Linked DNA regions of Homo sapiens: region 1 is linked to region 2. The links are contacts of gene promoters, found by promoter capture Hi-C in human tissues and cell types (Jung and others, 2019). All regions are on one chromosome and are shown on one strand. Each heading gives the region's core, a stretch centred on a gene start or on the middle of the fragment in contact. The rest is flanking DNA. Distances are from core to core; before and after follow the strand shown.

What was found. Contacts are between HindIII fragments. The study calls those that stand out against the background at their distance.
Region 1: a fragment that was not itself captured here is called in contact with the fragment with the promoter of TRPV4 in region 2 in 2 of the 25 tissues and cell types used here (IMR-90 fibroblasts and adrenal gland).

What each region holds. Positions count from the first base shown.
Region 1 is chr12:109,718,788-109,723,749 of GRCh38, reverse strand. All of the region lies in intron 1 of FAM222A (family with sequence similarity 222 member A), which reads right to left. Among named protein-coding and RNA genes, the nearest start is that of FAM222A, 7.4 kb to the right of the region's middle. The HindIII fragment of the contact is 6,122 bases long and covers 1-4,816 here.
Region 2 is chr12:109,832,148-109,837,200 of GRCh38, reverse strand. TRPV4 (transient receptor potential cation channel subfamily V member 4) reads left to right here and starts at 3,803. Exons shown (of 16, transcript NM_021625.5): 1 at 3,803-3,851. It overlaps MIR4497 (microRNA 4497), which reads right to left and starts at 3,853; the gene lies at 3,765-3,853. The HindIII fragment of the contact is 21,611 bases long and covers 1-5,053 here.

The sequences.
Region 1 (4,962 bases), core at 506-3,005, 110 kb after region 2:
ACCTGCTCTGGGCTTGGGGCCCAGGCCGATGCGATGCGGCATCACAGCAGCCCTGCCAGCTCCCTCTCCGGGCATCCCCCAGCCTTCGCCAGGAGTGGGAGCACAGCCAGGCAGCTGGGGTGGGGCTTGGCAGGGCTTCCCTGCCCAGTAGGGACTTGGCCAGTGCTGGGTGCCCTGACTGCGGGTCTAATGATGGAGAGAAAGGAGCTAATCACCAGTCTGGCCCTGCCAGGGACTGGGCCCGGGACCCAGGACAGGAGAAGGGTGGCTGGGTGGGGCGAACCATAATGGGGGTTGGGTGGGCAAAGTGCAATGGCAGGTTCAAGACTGAGGTGCCAGAACCTCCGGCCTAGTTGGCAGAAAGAATCTACAGTGGTGCCAAGAAGGGCTGCCAAGGGCCAAAACTGGCTCCTTCCTCATCCCCAGGGAAACTGGCCTGGCCTCCTTATGTCCCTTTGAACGCAGGTAGGGAAATCAAGGCAAATACTAAGAATATCTCAAGGGCCTGCGCTTCTGCTGCCCACATTTGGGAACCTTTTCAGAGGGCTTCCAGAATAGAGGCTAGTGGCCTGCACCCCTCCCATCCACCCCGGGCTCAAAATGCCAGCTTGCCACCCCTGCTGCTACCCTGGGATGCTTGCATGTTTGGGTTAACAAATGCATCATTTGGCTTTGGGAAATCCTGAGATCGCTAATAATTGTTCCCTGATGAAAAGAAATAAGGCCCTGATACCCCCTCCCCCCCCCACCCGCTCCCTCCAAGCTGGGAAAGAAAAGTCATAAAAATAGCTTGTTATCTCACCTATTGAGGCTCCGACTGGATGTTACTGCTAATTGGGTATAACATCCTTGTCTTGTTCTCTCAGAAGCTAAATCAAGAAAGCGCCACTGCTGTGAACTAATTATATCTCCGGCCTGCAGCCTGCAGCTTGTCTCTCCCTTTATTGAGTTAAAAAATGGTCACGAACCTTCATCTTTCATCCCCCCAAGCGCTGGGCCCACACTGCCCGCCAGGTGTGGCTCGAAAGGTGCAGACAGCCCAGCAGGAAGGTCTAGGAGGGGTCCTGGGGACAGGCAGCAGGGTAGGGGAGTGGTGAAGGGGAAGCCCTGTCCCAGGTACCTGCCTGGCCCCTTCTCCTGCCCGTCACTGCCAGGCCTGGTGTTCAACTTTGCCTGGAGAGGAGGACTCTGGTCTCTCCCCTCCTTGCAGCTGGGCCCCTGGGGAGGTCAGGAGCATTTTAGTCCGGGGAGTCTTCATTCATTTATTCATTCAATCAATACTTCTTGGATGTCTACCTACTGTGCACTAGGCACTGTTCTAGGCCAAAGCTTCTAGTAGACTGAAGGTAGCCCCCCAAGCAACCTCACCCAGGATTCACAGAGCTGTTGAATAAGTACTCTTAGACGGGACCTCACTGTTACTCTGCTGAAAGAGCTGCCAGAGCTCCCTACTATGGGAAAGCAAAGTCCAAACATCCAGGCCAGCCCTGGCTCCTTCCACAGTCCTCTCTCTCCACATTCTAGCCACATCTGGTTACACACTGCTCCCTTAGTAAACACTCTCACCTGCCTGCCTCTGAGCTGCCTCTCATGCTGTTCCCTCCACCCGGACGTTCACCCTTCCTGGCTCTGCCCGTCAGAAGCCCACCAGCCTTTAAAGCCTCCAAAAAAATGACATCTTTTCTGGGAGGGCTCCCCTGTCTGCCTGCCACCTACAGCCCTGTCCCAGGCTGTGAACTTTCAGACTTGGGTCTGAATGCCAGCTCGGCCACCCAACAAGTGCGTGACCCTACTCTGCTTAGCTGAGCCAAGCCTCAGTTCCCTCATCTCTAAAATGGGTTAAGAATTCTCCCTGGAGGTGCAGGGAGGCTTGCTGCAGGTGTTCTGCAGAATGATGAACGAGAGAGTGCCCAGGAAGGACCTAGCTCTCAGGAAGAACTAAATACATGCTGTTATCATCATCCAGACTGTCAGTGCTCGGAATCTGCATGGATGAACACAAGTGGGAGTTAGAAGAGGGTAACAGACCCTCCCACCTAAAAGGCTTTTGTGGCTTAAGAACAACCTGGATACACAGAGATCCCCTAGAATCCCTCGCTGTCCCCCCTGGTCCTCTGAGCCACATGGAGACGGGCCAGAGGCACCCTGAGCTCATTGAGGCCAGGCAGGCAACTGGTTTCAGCTCACAGGCCCTGCTGATTGATTGGCGCTGCCTGCCCAGAGCCCTGGAAGGAACCCAAGGTCAGGGGAAGAACTCAGCAGGGAAAGAGGGCAGCAATTGATTGGCAATGTCTGCCAAGGGCACAGCGGCATAAGGCAAGCCAGGCCTGCCACAGATTTGCCATCCTTGACATTTATGAAGGACGCGGCTGAGTCTGGGTTGGGAGGGGTGGGGGAAGGTGACCTGCTGAAGGTCGTGAAGCTCATAAAGGAGACAGCTGGCCCAGAACAGCGTCCCCTCGGCCCCTGCCCGAGGATCCTACCATGCCCAGTACCCTTACAGGCAGTGAAGAGGCAAAAGCTTGTGTGGATAATGAAGGGGGTTCTGTGGGCCTGCCATGTGGCCCAGGGCTGCTGCTTCACATCATCAGGCTAAGTTTCTTCATTCACATGACAGGGATAAAAACACCCTTCAGAGAGGGATATGAGGATTAAATGAGAGAACAAAATGCCAAAGTAGGAAACTCAGTCTGGCACACAGCAGATACCAGTGTCCTGTGATTCTCATAATAGGCAAAAGTATTCAATTACAAGTGCCACCTCCTCCAGGGAGCCCTCCCTGGCTACTCCAGCCAGAAGTAATTGTTTCCACCTCTGATTTCCTTTGAGAGACTGGTGGTGGCCCAGGGCAGGGCCCACGTCTGGCTTGTTCACTGCTGTGCCCCCCTGCCCCTGGCACAGTGCCCACATACTGTGAATTCCTCCATTGTGGCAATTAACCCACATGCACTTGTTGGGTGGCTGAGGGGGTGCACTCGAGGCCTCTCCCTCGGTAGGTACACACCACCTTTCAAGGCAACTGGGGCTTGTTCATCTTCATGTCCCCAGCATCTGGCAGGGAGCCTGGCCTGGAGCAGGGAAGCTCTCTGAATGAACGGATGGATAAAGAGCAAAAATAGCAGTTCCTGTTTACTGCCCATTGGCTATCGGTTACTGCCAAACCTCACAGCTGCCCTCTAAGGTGGTCCCTTGGCCCATCACAGATGAAGAGACGGAGATCTGCAGATGCCGAGGGGCAGGGCCAAGCCCTGCATTCAGGCCTGGGGATTTCATGCCAGGAGGCCCTGCCACCTCTGCCTCCCCCAGTGCCAAGCTCAGGCCTGGACTCTGTGAGGCAGCTGCCCGTGCCCTGGCAGCGAATCCTGGAGCAGACAGCTGGTGGCTGGACCTCCCTCCTCCTCCAAGGGAGGCCCCCCTCCCCACAGACTCTGGGTCATTAAGTTCTGCGTCATTAAGTCCCCATCCCCGGGAGCCTGTTCACAGCTAGTCTCGGCCTCACCCCCTGACCTCCCAGGCCTTTGTCCCCTGTGCCCTCTGCACAATAGCAGGGGCCCCCAGGGCCCCAAACAGCTGCTGCGGCTGGGATGCTGGCTTGCTGTGGGGCCAGGACTGGCCCAGGCCTGTATTCAAGCCCAGCCCACCCAGCTCTGAGGGGCTCAGCTAAGCCCCCTGCAAGCACTATGCACATGCAAGCTCACCCCACCCACAAGCCCATGAGAAAGCTGTTGAGACTCTCCTGAACAAGAGGAAACTGAGGCACAGAGGGGTAAAATAATTTCTCTGAGGACACAGCCAGTGAGAGTGCAGGTGCTCTCTCTCACCGGGTTTCAGCCCAGGTCTGCGACTCCCAAGCTCTCTGTTGGCCTCTAAGGCACTGGGATCTTAGCTGGCCCCTGCCTCTCAGATGCTTTCACTGGCTTCCCTCTTCCTCAGGGCCTCACAGCACCCTTAGCTCAGCACCCGATGCCCCCTGCACACCCTCCTAATCTCCCTTTCACCTCCACCATCTTATAAGCTCCCCCTGCCCTTCCTGGTCATGCTCCCGGGTCTCCAAACTCCCTCTGCCAGAGACACCCCCATTTACTCCATGCTGGGGAGAGCCACTCAGTCCTCAGGGCACAGAGCACAGCCCGCTTTGTCAGGAAGCCCTCCAGGACCAGCTGCAGGTTTTCCCTCCTCCAGCCCTGCTCCAGCCCTGTCTAGAATTCCAGTTAACTGCAGACTCATCTTACTCCCTCTAGAGGCTGTGGGCCATCTGATTTCTTATCACTTGACCACTGGGACACGGGCGACAGGGTGTCCTTGCTCAGTCTTTACCTAAAGCCTGGTTTTACCGAATGGAACCACGAGTGGGTGGGAAGAGGAGTGGGAAGCTGGAACCCCGCCTCTGCCTTCCCATCTCTGGCTGCCAATGAACCTCATACTTCTGCCACTCCCTGGCTGTGTGACCTCGGGCAGCAAAGTATAATACCTTCTCTGGGCCCCTGCTTCTCAGCAAAATGGGGGTGGTACCAGCATGTGCATTTCTTAGGGTTATGACGTAAACTCTGGAAGGTACTAGTCTGGTGACCTGTATCCAGGCATGATTACATGATTCCTGACTGTGACCACTGGAGTGGTCAGGGCATGAATTTGGGGTCAGAGAGACCCAGATGGTGGCTGCACATTGGCTGTGTGGTCTGGGCAGGTCGCCCCTTCCCCAGGGTCTCCGTTTCCCCATCTCTGAAGTGGCACTAACTCTGCCCACAGGGATGCAAGCCCCCCATCACAGAGACCCCATCTTTTGTTTGATGCATGCAGTAGGTACTCAGATATTTCTCAACTAAGCAATCAGGGGTCCAGGTGGAAGGAATCCATCCCTCTTCCCAGCCTCCACCCTTTCCAGAATCTCCCTCCCTACACCCAGCCCGTGCAGACTAAAATAGTCATTAGGCAGATTTCAAAAGATGTCAGTAGCTTATA
Region 2 (5,053 bases), core at 2,554-5,053:
CCCAGCATCTGGCACTGGACCTGGCATACAGTAAGCACTTGGTAAATGCAGACCCTTGGCTGCTGCCCAGGAACCTTTCTTAGGGGAGGTAGCTGAGTCCACCTGGGGCAGTCCAGGAGCTACGTGGAGAGCAAGGCTGCGCCCCACATGTGGCTGCCACATGACTCACAGCCAATGCTGAGGGCCTTGAAAGTTTTTCCTTCCCTAAGAGGAAACATTATTTCTGGCTAGGCACAGTGGCTCATGCCTGTAATCCCAATGTTTTGAGAGGCCAGGTTATGAGGATCACTTGAGCACGGGAGTTTGAGACCAGCTTGGGCAGCATAGCGAGACCTCACCTGTACAAAAAATAAAATTTAAAAAGCCAGGCTTGGTGACACACACCTATAGTCCCAGCTATTCAGGAGGCTGAGGCAGGAGGATCGCTTGAACCTAGGAATTTGAGGCTGCAGTGAGCTATGAGCAGGCAACTGCACTACAGCCTGGGCTACAGAGCAATACCCTGTCTCTCTCTAAAAATAAAAAAAAAAAGATTAAAAATTAAACTTAAAAAGTATATTCATATTGTTGTGTGACCCTCGTTCATCTCCAGAACTCTTTGCATCTTGCAAAACTGAAACCCTACGCCCAACAAACAGCAACCTCCCATTCTCCTCTCCCCCAGCTCCATCAACCAGGACTTTTTTTTTTTTTGAGATGGAGTCGCTCTCTGTTGCCCAGGCTGGAGTGCAGTGGCACGATCTCTGCTCACTGCAACCTCCCTCTCCCAGGTTCAAGCAATTCTGTCTCAGCCTCCCAGGTAGCTGGGATTACAGGTGCCCACCACCATGCCCAACTAATTTTTGTATTTTTAGTGGAGACGGGGTTTCATCATGTTGGCCAGGCTGGTCTCGAACTCCTGACCTCAGTTGATCTGCCCACTTCAGCCTCCCAAAGTGCTGGGATTACAGGCATGAGCCACTTCGCCTGACCCATCAACCAGTATTTTTAAAGCACCTACTAAGTGCCAGGTGCTAGACCTGTGGTCATGAACACGTTCCCTTGCTTCATGGACACTGGTACCCATTTTTTAGGTGAGGAAACTGAGGCACAGAGAGAGAGGGAGGCTCTTGCCCACAGCTCCCACCACAGCTCCTTCTCCCATCAGCGGCAGGGCAGGATTTGAACCCCAGTGTCTGGTGCAGAGGCCAAGCTCCAGCTGCTTAGCCCAAGATGAGTCACTTCCCTACATGGGGGCCTCAGTTGCCCCATCTGTGAAATGGGGATCAGGAAAGAGCTGGGTTAGTGATGATGATGCTGAGCGCTCAGGCCCCTTCCCTCTGAGCTTAGAGAAGAGGAGGTCGCCATCCCTGGCCCCATCTCCCCCAGTTCCAGTCCCCAACATCAGCTGCCTTATGGCTGGAATCACCCTTGCCATTTTCTTTAAATTGAGACAGGCCTTTCTGCAGAAATGGGTCCCAGACTCACTCCTCCACTCTCAACCTGGCCCAGCCCCAGCCCCAGCCCTGAGGGCCCCCAGCAGATAGCTGTCTGTCAGGGAGGTGTGAGGGGCCCTGTGTTTACCTTCCTCTCCACTGCCAGACATCTGCCTGTTTACTCCGGACCCTCAGAGGGTTCTCTTTCCCACCCCAACCCCCACCATGGAGGGAGCAGCTTTTGGAGAGGCCATACTCCTCTCCAAGCCTCAGTTTCCCACTTGCAAAATGGGTAGAGCAAACCCTACCTCACAGCCTGTTCTCCCTCTCATCCCCTAGGCTTCTGTGCTCAGTGAGTTAATTATTAGGGTTTGTTTCTTTGTAAATGTTTCACGCTGGAGGTGAACACATCACTCCTATTCAGGGGTACACACACACACACACTCTCTCTCTCTCTCTTTCGCCTCCCCACCCAGCAATTCTAAAATTTCACTTTCCAGCTGTTGGACCTCAGGAGAGATGCTGCTATTTTCAAGCTGAGGAGGAAGGAGCTACCCCACAGTCCCTGAGTCAGCTCAATTTAGTGAAAACACTAATGATGAAAATGGCATGGCTCTGGGCCGGGCACGGCGGCTCACACCTGTAATCCCAGCACTTTGGGAGGCCAAAGTGGGTGGATCAACTGAGGTCAGGGGTTCAAGACCAGCCTGGCCAACATGGTGAAACCCTGTCTCTACTAAAAATACAAAAAATTAGCCTGGCGTGGTGGCGCATGCCTGTAATCCCAGCCCCCAGGAGGCTGAGGCAGGAGAATCGCTTGAACTCAGGAGGCAGAGGTTGCAGTGAGCTGAGATCACACCCCTGAACTCCAGCCTGGGCGACAGAGTAAGACTCTGTCTCAAAAAAAAAAAAAAAAGGGCTCTGCACAGCCTGGATGCTCCCAGCATCTTCACTGCGACTGTGAGGTGAGGACTTTTGTATGCCCCACTCTACAGGGGGATGTAGAGGCACTGAGGCACAAAGGTGAAGGGACTTGCATAGGGCTGCTGGGTTAGAGAGTCACAGAGCCAAGCTGTGGGCCTGCTAGGCTTTCCAACCACCCTGGAGGAAGTGAGCTGCCCATCCTGTGGAGGTATTCAAGTGGACTCAGTGCTGGGTAGAGGGTATGGCTATGTGTTGGGGCCCACCTTTGTTATCTGATAAAAGAAAATACATGGGTAGGTGTGGTGGCTCATGCCTATACTCTCAGTGCTTTGGGAGACTGAAGTGGGAGGATCACTTGAGGCCAGGAGTTGTAGACCGGCTGCCCTCCCCCACCCCCCCTTCTACAAAAAAATAAAAATTAGTGGGGTGTGGTGGCGCATGCCTGTACTCCCAGCTGCTCAGGAGGCTGAGGTGGGAGGATCTCTTGAGGCCAGGAGTTTGAGGCTGTAGTGAGCCGTGATCATGCCACTGCACTTCAACCTGGGTGACAAAGGGAGAACATGTATCAAAAATAATAATAATAATAAAAAAAATAAACAAAAACGCATTGAGCCAGGCACGGTGACTCAGACCTCTAATCCCAGCACTTTGGGAGGCCGAGGTGGGTAGATCGCTTGAGCCTGGAGTTTGAGACCAGCCTAGGCAACATAGTGAGACCCTATCTCTGCAAAAAATTTAAATAAAATTAGCCAAGCATGGTGGTAGGCGTCTGTGGTCTCAGTTACTAGGGAGGCTGATACGGGAGGATTGCTTGAACGCTGGTGGTTGAGGCTGCAGTGATTCCTGATCACGCCACCGCACTCCAGCCTGGGCAACAGAGTGAGACCCTGTCTCAAAAACAACAGCAACAAAACATTGATGGCCTACTCCGAGGCAGGCTTCGCAGTAAGCACTGGGTGAAGACCAAGGAGAGCAGCTCACATTTATTTACCCCTGAACCATCTCTATGGGCCATACCCGAGGGTAGGGACCTCCTTCAACGCCTCGGAGGAAATTGTCTGCTGAATGAATGAATGAGCAAACACGTGGAGGACTGGGCCGGGACGCCCATTTAGAGACTAGGACACAGTCCCAGGGCGGCCCGAAGTCACGGAGCAAGATCGAATCGGAGCCGATTCCAACTAGAGCCCTCTCCAAAGACCGTCTGCCGCTCTATCCGGGGATCGCGACACCCATTTTCCAGGCGAGGAAACTGAGGCCCTGGCCCTGCACCTCCCCCGCAGGGGAGGCCCTCGCTGGGCGGGCGGGGTGCGAGTAGGGGCCGCCCCTTCTAGGGCCTGCGCTCGGCGGGGTCCGCGAGCCGGCGGGTGGGCGGGGAGCTGGCCGGGGGCGGCGCGCGGCTGGAACCTGAGCCGGCGGAGGAGGGACCCGCGGGCGGACGGGCGCCGGGCGGGCCGGCCGGGATTCAGGAAGCGCGGATCTCCCGGCCGCCGGCGCCCAGCCGTCCCGGAGGTAAGTGGGGCCCGGGCCCGGGAGGGGCGGCTCAGCCGAGGTCCCCTCGCGCCCCTGGGGACATCTCCGTGGCCCGTCCGGCTCCGGGGGGTCCCGAGGCTCCAAAATGCGGGCCAGGGGCGCGGGAGACGGAAGGCACCAGGTTCCGCAGGCGCCAGCCTCTCAGCTAAGTGCCCTTGGGCCGGACACCGGCTCTTTGGGTCTCGGTTTTATCACCTGTGAAATGGGCACCAACGTGGGGCCTGGGGTAGCAGGTCTGGGGGGAGGGCGGTTCGGTTCCCTGAGACCCCAAGCCAGGGAACCAAAGGCCCGGAGCCTTGCAGCCCACCTTAGGAGACTTGGAAGAGGGATTTCGGGGGACCTAAGGTTTGCCCTTGGCCCCTGAGCATGTCGGAGGGAATTTGGAGTCTGGAGCTTCCAAAGGCTTCTTCTTGGTTACTGAGTCCCGGAGAGACGGCTGTTTCCTCCAAGAGGCATGAAAATCTTTAACCTCTAGTTCTGCCCTGGACTCTCAGGACGTCCCGGGGGCGGGTGGCTCCTGGGGGTGGGTAGCGGGGGTGGGGGTGGGGGAGAGAGAGACTCCCACACTCCCCGCTTGCCTGGAAACACCAACCACAGATGCATTCATCGAGCCACCCACTGCTCCAGCCTGCCCCAGCTGTTCCCTCTGTCTGTCCTCTCTGTTTTGCAGATGGGGAAACTGAGGCTTAGGTCGGGGATCTAGACAATTGGGATTTAAACCCAGGGACTATCCAGCCCCAAAGCCCTTCCCACCACACCAGGTGGCCTGTCCTGGGGCCAGCTCTGCACACAGGGCCTGGTGCCCCCGGGGTGCTTGGGAAGTGGCAGGGCAGAGGTGGGCCCTGTGGCTGTTCTGGCTCAGCTTCTAAAACAAGAGCCTCTGCTGGGGGCAGAGGGGCCGTGAACCCCTGAAATGTTAGGCAGATACCCTGTGGGAGCTTTGTTCTGGGATGCTAAGAACCGCTTGAGGATTTAAGCTTTGCCACTTTGGCTCCGGAGCAAGGGCAGAGGGTAAGTCGGGACTCCCCGGGCTCCTGAGGAGGGTGACGAGGTGGGCTTTTGGGGGAACAAGGGTAGAAAGGTCAGGCCTGGGTTATCTGCGGGGCTAAGAGCGGGCCTGTGTGGGGCCCGGGGTGTGCTCTGCAGTCCCCTGCTGTGTGACCTTGGCCTGGTCCCTTAGC